Regions from separate parts of the Homo sapiens genome. Here all the other regions are linked to region 1. Evidence: promoter capture Hi-C in 16 types of primary human blood cells and fetal thymus (Javierre and others, 2016). All regions are on one chromosome and are shown on one strand. Each heading gives the region's core, a stretch centred on a gene start or on the middle of the fragment in contact. The rest is flanking DNA. Distances are from core to core; before and after follow the strand shown. Region 1 holds the start of TOX (thymocyte selection associated high mobility group box). Region 2 has its middle 350 kb from the start of CA8. Region 3 has its middle 360 kb from the start of CA8.

Region 1 (4,842 bases), core at 1,454-3,953:
TGAAAAGTATTACAATGATGCTCTATTTTATTTTCTAAATTAAGAAAGATTTGCTCAGAGGTTTAGATATTCAACTTTCCCCAACTTTTAGTACAAATACATCCATTTAGTTTTTGATGGGCCTTGGATACAGCATTATAAAGTGAGCATTTTTTCAGATTACACTGAGATGGCCTCTCTTTGTATAAGTGGCTAGAAGTAAGAACTTTTTCCCCCAGTAGCTCATATTCCCACCTATCACACCATGCCATGTACAGTATACCACTTTAACTCCATACACTCCGATGGAAGAAACCAGACTCTTGATTATGTAGAAGAATGCACAGGTCTCATGCATTTGGATTTTCCCTTAAAGCAGAGAAAACTGGTAGGTCTGTAGAGGAAAGCAGGAGATATCATTATCTCCCAGGAGTCAAGATGCAGATAATGGTATTGTTCCAGTCTTGAACCATTTCATTTCATCTTCCTGATGTTCACGAGGCCATCAAACAGACATCAATGATGAATTCCAAGAAAGTTTTATTTTTAAAAATCAAGTTTTGATATAATAAATGTTGGATTGAGGATAGAAATTTAAGCTGAGAAATGTTTAATTTGGACCTAAAAAAGTTTATTATTACTATTATTATTGTGGAAGGAAATACATACAGGCACATTTTAGTATCTACAACAGTATTTGGGAAGCTGTTATGAAACACAAAACTTCATTTAAATTTTATTATAAAGACCTTTATTAGGAGAAAGGACATATTTTCTATTTCTTACTTTTATTTTGTGCCTTGAAGGACTTGTGAATGTATAGAATAATTATTTTTTCTTACTGCTTCCTCTTTGCAACCCAACCTCCACCAAGTCAATCGTGAAGGTAGGAAGAAAGCTGTATTTCTGTTACTTTTAAAAATGATAACGAGAAGAAATTAAAACAATGGCTTAAGAGAAAGAGGATGTAAGGAGTACAAAGCAAAACTTAACAAAGAGTTAGTAAAGGAACTTGCATTGACAATTCACTCAGCCATGTTAATTTTATCATTAATACTGTCTTCATCATTTTTTTTTCCAGGTCTCTCTGCTCGTATTTGCTTGGTGCTCCGAAATGCACGGGAACAGACAGCTATGGGAAAGCTGCACAGAGCAGTTGGCAATCAACATGTCCTAGAAGGGTGTGTGGAGTAGCAAAACAAGTGGAACGGATGAAGAACTTCCAAGCTCCTTCGCAGAGTTTTGGGCCCTAGTGTGCAGGGCTGCTCCCTCATGAGATGGAGGACAATGTCGCCCACACCTACTTGGACCTCTCACCAAGGACACTGCCCTCAGAGATAAATCTGTTGGACGGCAGCCAAGAGACCCCAAATTGTCTCAACCTCCAGGACACGGCAAGTTGCAAGTTTCCGAGTTGGGGAGGCAAAGCGGGAAAACATGTTTGGCGATTTCCTCCTGCCACTCACCGACCGGAGAAATGGGGAGGCGGACTCCAGGTCTTTCGTGGACTGCCAAGAGCCCTATAGGGCGTCCAGCTATAAAAAGAGAAGAATCCCATGAAGGACAACAAGCAAACTCATATGTTATCCCTTTAGCCGGATTGTGTGCTGATGATTGTTTCCCTATTTACACTTCGAATCACCCCTGTGGTCTTTTGTGAGTCCCCAAGGCAGCCTCAGCCTTCGCAAACCGTCCAGTGGGGCACGAATCTCGGAGGGGTGCGGGCTGCAGGCGGCAGAGGGAAGCCAAAGAGGGGCGGCTTTTCCAGGCCGTCCACCCCCAGGCGAGCTGGTCCTCACCCTTCGATCGGCTCGAGTCCCTCGGACAGTTGCCCACTCACAGCGTGCAAAGGGGTCGCACTCCCTGTGGGTTCTCCGCCCTCAGAAGCGGCGCTGCGCAGGAAAGTCACCTCCACTACGGGCCGGGAGTAGGGAGGGGAGCACAGTGACAGGGTTGGGGAACAGCCGAGGAGGAGTGGGGGTCGCGGAGATAGGGGTGGGGACGGCCGCGGAGAGGGCGGTGGGAGTGGGGTGGGGCCGGGGAGGGCCGGGGGCGGGGCTGCGGGGCGGGGTGCGCCACAGCGCCCCCTAGCTGCGCGCTCCCCACGGTGCCCTGAGGCCGCTGGTGGCTCTGGCTCGGCAGCCCCTTTGTGTGCGACGCGCTGGTCCCGAGGAGCGCGGCACGGGCACAGCGGAGGCCTCCCAGGGTCCCACCGCTTCTGTCCCAGCCAGGCCGTGCTCTCCTCCTTCTCCTTCTCCGCTCCTCCTTTCTCCGGTCCCCGGCCTCTGGTTCCGAACAGCAGCCATTGGGCCTTGACGAGCCCGCGTCCGGCCGCGCTCCCTACCCCGCCCGGCCCGGGACGCTCGCCCCCCTCCCGCCCTGTCCCTTCTGGATCCCCGCCCCACCCCCCCACCCCCCACATCCCGGGCCTCCAAGGTGGAGAAAATAAACTACAAGCAGAACAACTCAGAATCTCCAATAAAACGCCCAGTACCTAGAGCCCGAGCGCGTGTGCCGGGCTGCGAGGGGCGCGGGAGGCGGGGATGGGGGGGCGGGCGGGGGGGACAATGAGCGCATGAAGTTACCTGCCCGGCGGCGGCGGCAGCGGCGGCGGCGGGACCAAGAGGCGGCGGTGGAGCAGGCTGCGCGCTCGGCGCCGACGGGTGCGCGCCGCGGCTTGGGGGAGAGTTGAGCGCTTTTCCCCCCTCTTTTTTTTTTTTTTCCTCTTCTTCTTAAACAAACCACAAACGGATGTGAGGGAAGGAAGGTGTTTCTTTTACTCCTGAGCCCAGACACCTCACTCTGTTCCGTCTAAGCTTGTTTTGCTGAACACTTTTTTTTAAAAAAGGAAAAAGAAAAGGAGTTGCTTGATGTGAGAGTGAAATGGACGTAAGATTTTATCCACCTCCAGCCCAGCCCGCCGCTGCGCCCGACGCTCCCTGTCTGGGACCTTCTCCCTGCCTGGACCCCTACTATTGCAACAAGGTGAACGCTCTGCTTTTGTTTCCACCGTGTTCTTGCTGCTTGATCCTGGGAGGGGAGCGGCGGTGGCCGGGCCGCGGCGGGGCCGGCTTGGCGGAGGCCGGTCCCGGGCGCGCTCGGCTCGCAGCCCGCTGCAGCCTGCGTGCGCTTGGGTAGTAAATATTGTGGAGTAGCTCCGGGGGCTTGCCAAACACCGCGATTGTGCGGAAAGTGACACGATTTGCTCGGATTCTTTCCTTCCTGCTGTTCGCGGCTAAGGATCCCTGCCTAGGTTTGCCGGGGGGCGTTTAAAAAAATAATAAGAGAAAACCGTGGAATACTTTGGGGGTGTGTCTGGGGTCCAGGAACGGAGGCAGAGTAAGAGAATTCAGTTTATTTCCCAGTTCCCCCTTCTCTCTCCCTCCCTCCCCGGGCAGTGGGGGCTCGTGGCACCACTTCCCTTCTCCGGATTAGTTGCCAGGGGAGCAGCCGGGAGTCGGGGTGCAGGGACCTGGGAGGCGCCCCTGCCCCCCACAGGGAAAACTGCCCCACAACTCTTTTGTTTTCTCAAACCGGTTCCGGCAGCCGAGCCCGGGTTCGGACACAGGTCCGCGGGCCAGAGCACAGCGGGGTAGCTGGGTCAAGGTTTGGGGAACAGTTCCTGTTTAAGGGGTGCGCGCGGAAATTGCAAGTTTGTTGGGAGCCGGGCGAGCACGTCGCGTTCAAGTCCAAAGCTCCCGCACTCGCGGAGCAGGGTCCGCGGCTGAGCTGTACCCACGGCCCGCTGACCTCGGGTGCCAGGGCCGCGGGGGCCCGGGGAGAGGCGGATCATGCCGGTGACCCGGAGGTGGGGCGCTGGCCTGGGCTGCTGCGGAGTTCGGCTGGGTCCACCTATAGGACAGTCAGGGGGTACGAGGGAGGGGGTTACTCTCCCGGCTTCTCGAACTCTCTCATCCCAGAGAGGGAGGACACGCAGGGACCGGTCCCCCAGAGTGGTCGCAGGGGCACGACTGCCCACGCCTAGGGCTAGTTGGACGTGTCTAAGCAGTCCCGTTGGATGAACGTTGGCAGAGAGAATTGAGTTCTCTAAAACGCTGGGCGGGCCTTTTAGACGCCCAACTCTCGCTTGGTGATAAATCTGCCTGATACTCACAGCCCCTGCAGGCACATCCATGGCGACCCTCGGTGCATTCCACGGGAAAAATCGTTGGGACTCCCAACATTTGCCTGGTGGCGAGTCATCACCAAACGGCTTTTTTACCTGATACAGAGATATTTAGTGCGCTGCCTTCTCAGCCCTGGACTCCGCACCACGCGACCGAGTCGCAGCTCCGAGTCTTGGACAGTGTTGACACACAGGCAGGCTCTCACACACACACTTCCCCGTGGAGAAGCTCCTCGATGCTGTGTCCAGTGTGAGACCCACTCAAAGGACTGTGCTGTGTGCCGATGGTGTTTAGGCAAGTTAGAAAAGAGGGACATCCAGTCTTGAGCAAGGCAGAAGGGCTTCCATTGTACAGGGAGCCCTTCAGCTACGGGCAAGTTGAAAGGTACGGGGAACTTTGGCAAGCGCATAGGAGTTTGTGTGATGAAGTTTCATTATTTGCTGGTGACATAGTTCTTTTAGTCTAAAATCTGTTTTGTCTGTACACTCAAGTATTGTGTTACGTTTTATTTTGCTTATGACACCAATACTATTGCTAATAAAAAATAATAAAGTTGCAGCCCTATCTTGGAGAGTAAAGACTTATTCCACTGTAGTTACCGGAACCAAAAGCTCAGAACTATTTTGGCAATGAGACTGGACAAATCTTATTAAGTTTATCAGTGATTTTAGGCCCCAAAAAGAAGTTAATGACTTGGATACACATTTCACTCCTCGTTCTTGTGATAAGTAGGGTC
Region 2 (4,842 bases), core at 1,351-3,850, 820 kb before region 1:
AAAATGCTTTCTGTTTTAGTCCGTTTTCATGCTGCTGATAAACAGCATTACCTGAGACTGCGCAATTTACAAAAGAGAGAGGTTTCATTCGACTTACGGTTCCACATGGCTGGGGAGGCCTTGTAATCATGGCAGGAGGCAAGGAGGAGCAAGTTATATCTTACGTGGATGGTGGCAGGCAAAAAGAGCTTGTGCAGGAAAACTCCCCCTTATAATAACCATGGGATCTCATGAGACTTACTATCATGAAAACAGCACGAGAAAGACCTGCCCCCATGATTCAATTACCTCCCACTGGGTCCTTCTCACAACACGTGGGAATTCAACATGAGATTTTGGTGGGGACACAGCCAAACCATTTCACTTTCTTTGTAGGACATTAATAATCACTGAGGCGATCTGTGTCTCTTTTACATAAAGGAGCCCCAAATAGAAAGGAATATTCCTATACTATCCAAAACTTAACAAAAACAGAGCTTTATTCCAGAGTCGGTACACTTTCTAATGAGTTCAAATTCATCTTACTTGCTTATTTATGTTAAGATCTATGGCTTTCTAAATTGTATTTATTTTATACTCGTACAGTATCATATCCCAGTACCTAAACGGTTATATACAATGACCAATAAAATGATAAGGTACAGTTTCAAAAAAGAAAGATATGTATGTGTATGCCCTTTTCCGTCCTTACCAGAAGGAACAGCTTTAGACTTGAACATGAGAATGTATTTTAAAGCTTATAAACTAGGAAGACACAGTATTCTAAGGAACAATAATTAAAGCTAAGGAGATTATAATGCAGCCACGAATGGCTATATCACTTGTTTGTGCACTGAAATTGAAATAATGCTGTTCAAAATTCTATTGAAAATATGATTGCTAATATCAGAGATAGTATAAATGAAGCTAAAATTTAATGAGGAAAGAAAATAGAATGACTCTCCAAGCCTATGTAATTTGTTCAACTCAGAGCTAAATATATTATCTTAAAATGTATAGAAACTGATATGCTCAACATACCACAGCAGTAAAATGTTAGTGGGTTACCAGAAAATATTCATTACTTCTCCTGAAAAATGATGATCCTTTGTAATAAAAAGTAAGAAGGTGCATGGTGTTTCTTCACAAAGGGTTAGTGTTTACTGTGAGGGTGACTTTCATGTTGAAATGTTACAAGTTACACAAATTTCTCATGGATTACAAGGTATTCTGTGTGTTTGCAGAATGTAATGAACAGCTAACTGAAGGTCAGCATTTCACCAATGTTTAAATCCATTTACTATTCTACTGGAAAATGTCCTGAAAATTGTAATATATCCCAGTTTATTTGTTTAAATGCAATACCTGTGAATTCAGAAATTACACTATTTAGAAATATATGGCAGAGAGGAAAGGAATGAGATTCCCATTAATGGAGAAGATGCTTTGTCTTGTTACGAAGTTTTTGTTTTTTCTGTTTATAACACAAAGTCTGTGTCAATGGATCATTGCCTATCTTATGGGACCAAAGGAATATACCCTTAACCAAGAAATCTCCTGTTTACTTGCCTGAGATTTTGAGAAATAGTATCAGCAGTTGAAAGTCTTTTTCTAAAGGCTTATATTTTAACTGGTTGAAGCATCGCCCAGTTGGGAGATTTCGAAGGAATGGATCCCAGACTTCCACCGTTCTTTAACTTCTTCCTTCTAGCACCTTCCGTAGGACATAGGGGAGGAATTTCTAGTCTAGTAAAAGAACCCCTAATCTTCCCTGTTTCTTCTTTATCTCACAAAATGCCTGTCTGCTGCAATCTTGTATGTATGCATAGGTGTATGTGTGTCTGTGTGTGAATATATGTATGTCTGTATATATGTATTCGCTATTTATTCATTAATACAGTTACACATTCACAGAATATCTACTAAATATTTACTACATGCCTGTTGTGCTATTGCAGAAAAGTAAAGATGAGGAAGACTTGAAATGGTACCAAGTTTGAATCAGACAAACCCAAATTAAATATTTTACTCTGCTGCATATTGTCTGTGTAATGTCAGAAACACGGCCTAAGCTCTTCTTTATAAAATGAGGGTAGTAATATCTAGCTCCTAGAGTTGTTGTTGGAAATATATAATTGCCTTGTGAACAAAGCACATAGCACTTCACCTTATAGCAAGCACTCAAATAAATAAATAAATGCCAGATACATAATACTGATTAAGTTTTAGTAAAAATCATTCCTTCCTTCTCTTTTATCATAAGGTTTTCTCTCTCTCTACTAGGTTATTCCTATTAACAAACAAACATTTTGATATATCATTTGTGTAAAAAATATTGTCCTTGCCCCACTTTTGTACCCACTTAGAGCCTCACTTCTTAGATCATATTTACAGCAAGACCCTATAAGTAATCTGTACCCATTCTCTTTAATTCCTCCCATTCTGCTTTGAAATCAATCAAATCAGGCCTTCTACTGCCCAATTCCACAAAAACTGCTTTTAGGAAGACCACCAGTGGCTTCCATTTTGCCAAATCTAAAGGTCAGCAGTCAGTCCTTGTCTTAATCTGTTGTCAGCGTCTTCTGACAAGTTAATGTCTCCTTCCTTTTTGAAACACTTTCTTTTTTTAAAAAAATTATTTTTATATATTTGAGGGAGTACAAATGCAGGCTTCTTTCTTTCTTTTTTTTTGAGAAGGGGTCTGGCTGTATCACCCAGGCTGGAGTACAGCGGTGTGATCTTGGCTCACTGCAAACTCCCCCTCCCGGGTTCATGCTATTCTCCTGCCTCAGCCTCCCGAGTAGCTGGGACTACAGGAGCCACCACGCTTGGCTAATTTTTTGTATTTTTAGTAGAGACGGGGTTTCACCATGTTAGCCAGGATGGTCTCGATCTCCTGACCTCGTGATCCGCCCGCCTTGGCCTCCCAAAGTGCTGGGATTACAGGTGTGAGCCACCGTGCCTGGCCGAGTGCAGGCTTCTTTCATGCATATATGGTGTACTGGTGAGGTCTGGGCTTTTAATGTACCCATTTCGCGAATAAGAAATATTGTATCCAACAGGTAATTTTTCAACCATCAACCCCATCCAACCACCTCCACTTTTGCAGTCTCCAATGTCTATTATTCCACTCTGTATGTCCATGTGTACTCATGGTTGAGCTCCTACTTATATGTGAGAACATGCAATATTTGGCTTTATGTGAGATATTTTCTATACTAGGCTTCCCAGAAAAAATATTCTCTTGGTCTCCTTCCCACCTCACCAGGAGCTCCTTCTCAGTCTTCTTTGTGGATTCCTCATCATCTTCCTGACCTCTTAGACTTAAAGCATCTTAAAGCATTCCATGCTCAGTGCTTAGAATGTTTCTCACTCCTGACATTTACTCCCTTCCTGATCTCTTCTAGTTTCATAATTTTATATGCCAATGACTTACAAATGTATATCTCCAACCTAGATCTCTCCCTTGAATTCCAGACTCACATAGTCAACTGCTTAGTTGATATTTTTCACTGGATGTCCAACTGACACCTTGGAAATAATGATATTGGTCTTTCTTCAAAGCGCACTTTTCCAGCAGTCTTTCTTATCTTAGTAAATGGCAACTCTATCCATCGTTCACGCCAATGACAAACCTGTCATTTCTGACTCTGCTTTTCTCCTCATATTGTATGAGGAGAATACAATACCTCATTTATCAAACCTGTCGCCATTACCTTCAAAATGGATCCCAGACTGGCACATCTTACCACTCTGGCAAAACACCAGCATCTCTTGAATTAATCAATTGCTACCTAACTAATTTTCTTGTTCTTGCCTCTCCACAATCTGGCAGCTAGAATTATTCTTTTCCATTTTAAATTGGCTTATCATATCTCTTTGTTCAAAATTCCCTAATTGTCTCACTTTTGGTAAAGACCATTGTACTGACAGGGGCCCACAAGCCTTCCCTATGATCTCCTCCGCATCCACCCACTCCTCTCTGACATCGTCTCCAACTATGCTCCTGCCACACTGGCCTTCACAGGCAGACATGCTCCAGGCTCAGCAATTCTACCTGTGTGTGTTTCCCTCTTCCCCAGATATCCACAGGGCTCGTTCCCTCATCCTCTTCAGTCTTTGCTCAAATGTTCCCTTCTAATGAGGAGTTCATTGAGATGCTTTATTTAAAATTGCATCTCTACCCCTCCCTTCTTTCTCTCCACAGCAGTTATCACCATCCCATGTATTGTTTACTTCACTTACATGTTTTATTTATCAGCTGTTTTCCATGCTAGAATTTAAACTTTATGTGAGTTCTTTTTTATTGGTTTTTAATCTGTTTTGTTTGCTAATGTTTTCAGAGTTAAATCCAGGTTTTGTGGGGCCTGGAGCTTCTACAATTTGGCTGTACCTCTTAAAAACATGAAACGAGGTATGAAAATTGGTATTTATTTAGAATGATAACAAAAAATTATAACCAGGTTACACTTTTTAAGAAGCTTACAACTGAAACACCACAAAATTTAATGTCTTAAAAAATTGCCCAAAGTTTTGTTGCATACTGTTTAATCAATATTAAGTGATAATTTTGTCATATAATTTTCAATAGATTGAAACAGAAAATGAAAATCTCTAGCATGGTTAATTAAAATTGTTTTAGTTTCAATAAATTGAAAAGTTATTCTGCTTCATTAGTGTTATTGGTAAAGTCATGTAAATTTTCACAATTGTTGTCAAATTTGGGGAAACAGCAATCAAGCTTCATTCATATGGGAGTTTTCTAATTTGGAGGAATTTTTCACATGCTAACCTCTGGCTCTGTGCATTTCTATCCTTATTTTTTCTCCTTTACACGTACATTTCCGGTGTGCAGAGTCACAG
Region 3 (4,842 bases), core at 1,400-3,899, 800 kb before region 1:
GCTGGAGGCAACAAAGATGGCACCACAAGTTCCCTAACACCAGCATGTGGCAAGCCGTCTATCATCTATGGAGATACTGGCTGAGCTTGTTATGATGCAGACATGACAGATTGTAACGTATGCCCTTTTGGTATTTTCTCTGTAATCATTCAGGAACTATGAGATTGTTTCATTTCCTGTTGTAAAAAACAGCAGACATTTTCTCTGCCTTGCATGTAACTATATCGGTGGGAGGGCATTTTCTAAAGAAATCATATTGAACTCTTTTCTTAAAAAAAAGAGATTTCACTGAAGTTAAAACAAGAATAATTGGTAGGCTTCCTTTTTGCCTGTCTTGAAGCAAAATAAAATACTCTATCCTGTTTTAAAGATCTATAAACAGCTCAGCTAATAGAAAGGGGATGGGCAAAAAAAATAATAAAAAGCATTAACTTCTGAATTTTAGCAGAGGCCTATATATTGGAATAAAGAAAATGATTCATAAAAGTTCTTTGATAGTTTTTTTCCACAACAACAAAATATAGCCATGCTTGTCGGCCCATCTGTATTTTCCCTTCCTCTAATAAACTGGCTAGGCCAGAGCTGCAAAGGAACATTATAATATTGACAATGTTGCTGGAAAGCCATGTGCTTTAGAATGAATTAACTTTTGCTGCACTGTTGAACATATGAAAAAAAATGGCTCAGCAGAAAAAAAAATCACTTTAACCCATTTTTTGCCACTGGAGCTCAATGCAACAATCAAAATGAATAGGATCTGATAAAGAAGCTAGTATGTTTGTCCCCAGTAAAGAAGCCCATTTTCACACATCTTCTGGCTGTAATATATCTCAGAAGCTTCAAGAAATATCTGGCAGGTCTTAGATTGATGTGAACGAAATTGCAGGTAAAACTGTTGCCAAATAAGCAAGAAATGAGGGCACTGCAGAGGTTAATGTATTGGTAATAGTGTGAAAACTAAAACTGAAGTAACTTTATGTCCTTATTTATGGTATGTAATACTCATCTGCAGCAACCATAACAGTACATGCTTCCACTAGATTCTCAGGTCACTAGCTGAGGAGAGATTGCATTCTTATAGTAATTTTCTATCCCACACCTCCCAGAATATCTGTTAAAAAGAACATGCTAGAATTGGCTTGTGCCCTATCTTTTCTGTTTTATCCTCACACCTATTACAGTTTCATAATATTGTCCCCTAACTCCTGTCTTCTTTCAATTCCCAACAAGAATATATAGTTCCCTTAAGAAAGTTAGCACGTAATATTTGATTAATAGAGTATACATATTTATGCACACATCTGATAGTAGTATAGTAATTAACAATGTATAACACAATAAAAAATACATAAAAATTAAAACATTGTAATAACTTCAGATTATTGTGTGAGTTATTTTGTATGCATTATCTCTTGTGCTATACAGATTAACCAGGAAGTTTCTAGTTCTACAAGTGGAACTAGGAGCAAGTTCCTTTCTCTATATGAGTGAGCCATCCATCAAGATTGCAAACACACAGAGTGTGAGTAGAATAAAATCTAAGCCTAATGTCAGCTCCGTAGACCAGAGGAGAGGTTAGGGAGATCCCCAGCACAACAGGAGAGTGGAAAGTTGCAGTTGCTCATCATTCCAGGTTCATGCCCCTGGAGATACTGCAGTTGTGGCAGCCAGTAGGCTCTCAAAGAAGACAGGTCCTTCAGCATTCTTTTGGAGGAGGGGAGATAGTGTTTCTGCCCCTGGGTCTCAGCAGTTACTAGAACAGTAGCGTGGACCAGGGGCATACAAGGATATCTATGCTGTCCTAGAGAGATTGTCAATGTACCCTTCCTATGAGGCCAACTAGTGTAGAGAATTTTGATGGAGGTGATCAGGTCTTTAGCCACAGGATTCCTCCCACCTCTCACATCTTTGTTACCAATGAGTCACCAACCTTTTTGAAATGTGTAAATTAAAGCAGATTGCACTCTTACATTTCAATCGTGGAATTTATATTCAAATCTAACTGCTGCATTATAATCGACTTACAGACTTCAGCTAATTTAGGGAATGACTAGACAATATAAAGAAGAAAGGCTCATTATGATGGGCCCCAGCCCTAAAAGCAATTGTCTCAGAGACCCCCTTCAAAAATACAATCCTAAGATTGCAGATTGTCTGCATTGCCCCAAGAATACCCTGACCTGGTGAAAAAGATCATAAAACTCACATTGCACAGCCTCACCCACAAGAGCTGGGTCATCATCCCTGAAATTCCTCCTCTTTATAGATTGTCCTCTAACTCCATCTTCTTTCAATTCCCATATGGACTCTTCCTTTGGTTCTGCAAGAATATTCCCATGGAGATTTAAGAATCCATATTTCCCTGCAACTATACCTGTAGCACCCTCTGTTCACCAGTCACTAATGAATGCTGCAACTTCAGCTCTCAGGGACCTGAGCAGTGACTGCATAATGTGTTGCGAATGTCTGTGCTGGGAACGTGGTCCATTACTAGCCCTCCTTCCACAGCCCAGCCCTGCAGGCTTCCTTCTCCATACCCCTAACCTGCCCCCTTCATCCTAACATTACCCTTCGTCTCCCTATTCCTGTCCCTAAACCCTCCCCAATGACTGCCCCTACTCAGTACCGTCAGACAACTCCCTCCCTCCAGATTCTCCAACTAAAATGAACACAAATTGTTTGAAATGGGAGGAAACTAAAAAATTAGTGTTTTAGAGAATAAAAAAATGGAATTTGACCTGTCTGAAAGGATCTCAGACTAAACTGTTGGGGATCTGAGACTAATTTCTGGCAGGGAAAATCTGTATTGAAAAAACCTTTGTGGAAACTGGAAGGAATCAAAGACTCCAGTTGCTTTAAGAAGGTAAGGAAATAAGTGTCTTGTGCTGTGTCACTGTAGTAGGATGAGTTGGTCACGTGGAAGTGCTTTGGAGTCAGACAGTCCCAGGCTCAAATCCACATCCCTCATTGCTATTTACCAGTGTATGGGCATTTGCAAATTATTCAAGCTCTTCAAATTTAAGTTGTTGGTTTTTTTTATTTTTTAACTTGCAAAGTAAGATTAGGGTTAGTTTCTTCTTTAGAGATGTTTAAAGATTAATGAGAAGATATATGTAAACTTTGTAAGACAGTGCTTGGCTCATGGCAAGTTACCCAGAAATGTTATTGGCCTTACTTCCTTATTCTGATCACTATCCCACTCAGATTCATTAGTTTTCATTTTGAAAGCCACTAGGTTTATACTTTATCTGAGCCAATGCTGTTTATCCCAGCATAGCCAGAGCTCCAGAGTGCCCATTAATGAGAGTTTGATGAATCTTCCTTTGCAACTTCCATTTCACGAGATGGAAAAGCAACATCAGAAGGAAGCCATTTTTACATGATTTTAGGTTTGGTGAAATATTGCCTATTGCCCCACAGAGCACTGATGAGCTTGAAATAATTAATACAGGAAACCAATGGAAAGAAAATGTGTCTTCAAGTCCCGTGCATTTTTCTGATGTCAACTGGTACTGTACTATGTTTGTGAAAAATGGCTTACCCTCAAAGAAGTAGAAATGCTTTCCACAATTATACCAAGTGCTGCCAAAGCCTCAGAATGAGGGCATCATTTAAGGCCTGTCAAACAAAGCCAGTCAGTAGCTAAAGCGATTAAGGACAAATTTTTATCAGAAATATTCATTGCAATAGGGAAAAGAGTTCAGCACAAACTGAACTCAACTCTGATTTATACACAGGTGACTGGATGTTTGTCAGGGAGAAGAAGGCAGTTGAGAGGAGGGTGAGCTGGGGATCCATGGAGTCAGGAAAGTGAAAAGTTAAAAAAGCAGGAATGGAGGCTTGTTCCGTGTGAAACCCATCTGGGTTTATTAACTGGCACTTAGTGAAGTTTGGCTCCTGCTCTCCCAAGAGATGAGAAAACAGAGGCCCTATCTTCAGGTGTGGGCTGGCACAAACAGTAAACTGTAAATTCTTTTTTTTTTTTTTTTTTCAAGACGGAGTCTCGCTCTGTTGCCCAGGCTGGAGTGCAGTGGTGCAATCTTGGCTCACTGCAACCTCCACCTGCCAGGTTCAAGCAATTCTCCTGCCTCAGCCTCCCAAGTAGCTAGGACTACAGGCATGCACCACCATACCCAGCTAATTTTCTGTATGTTTAGTAGAGATGGGGTTTCATCTTGCTGGCCAGGCTGGTCTCAAACTTCTGACCTCATGATCCGCCTGCCTCGGTCTCCCAAAGTGCTGAGATTACAGGCATGAGCCACCATGCCCGGCCGTAAGGCCGTAAACTGTAAATTCTTTTTGCAGCCTTGAGTTTTCTTAGGTAGACATTTAAGTGAACCAGGGTCCTTCCAGAGATGTGGCCCTGAGCTATTAGAACCTAAGTGAGTTTTTTCTTTTCTTTTCTTTTTTCCTTTTTCTCTTTTTTTTTTTCTTTTTTTACGTGTTTCTAGGCCAAGCTTGAGGCCTAGTCAAGAAGAGGGCTCAGAGGAGCTTGGATACACTTTGCTCAAGAAACAAGAGTATCCTTGTCAGATCTCAACTCTGAAGATTACTGACTATGTTCTTTTGCAGACTCCACATTGTATTGCATGGGAAAAGAAGCCTGAAAATGTAAAGGCTTTATTATTATTGGGAGAAAGATCAAAGGCAGTTGGTTTCTTCAAAGTTTCTGAGCTTTATTTGAGATAATGGACAATTCCTCAACTTGAACCCTCTTCATTAGTCTCTCAAGAACTGAAAGAAATTTTCCTTGACAATTTATACTTGTAATGGAGTATTAAATAGAATTCAAAGAGGACATTACAGATGATAAAACTGAGACGGGGTGGAGGAGACATGACC

What was found. Contacts are between HindIII fragments. The CHiCAGO score rates a contact against its expected background, and 5 or more counts as called.
Region 2: a fragment that was not itself captured here is called in contact with the fragment with the promoter of TOX in region 1 in 1 of 17 cell types (M2 macrophages); the score reaches 5.2 in M2 macrophages.
Region 3: a contact is called between a fragment that was not itself captured here and the fragment with the promoter of TOX in region 1, in 1 of 17 cell types (M2 macrophages). The highest score is 6.6, in M2 macrophages.

What each region holds. Positions count from the first base shown.
Region 1 is chr8:59,117,008-59,121,849 of GRCh38, reverse strand. TOX (thymocyte selection associated high mobility group box) reads left to right here and starts at 2,703. Exons shown (of 9, transcript NM_014729.3): 1 at 2,703-2,964. The coding sequence starts at 2,863. TOX-DT (TOX divergent transcript) reads right to left here and starts at 2,640. Exons shown (of 3, transcript NR_149031.1): 1 at 2,565-2,640; 2 at 1,779-1,893; 3 at 1-1,514. RefSeq lists a silencer at 1,959-2,178. The HindIII fragment of the contact is 5,602 bases long and covers 1-2,797 here.
Region 2 is chr8:59,933,587-59,938,428 of GRCh38, reverse strand. No RefSeq gene overlaps it. Among named protein-coding and RNA genes, the nearest start is that of CA8, 350 kb to the left of the region's middle. The HindIII fragment of the contact is 3,724 bases long and covers 739-4,462 here.
Region 3 is chr8:59,914,468-59,919,309 of GRCh38, reverse strand. No RefSeq gene overlaps it. Among named protein-coding and RNA genes, the nearest start is that of CA8, 360 kb to the left of the region's middle. The HindIII fragment of the contact is 3,620 bases long and covers 840-4,459 here.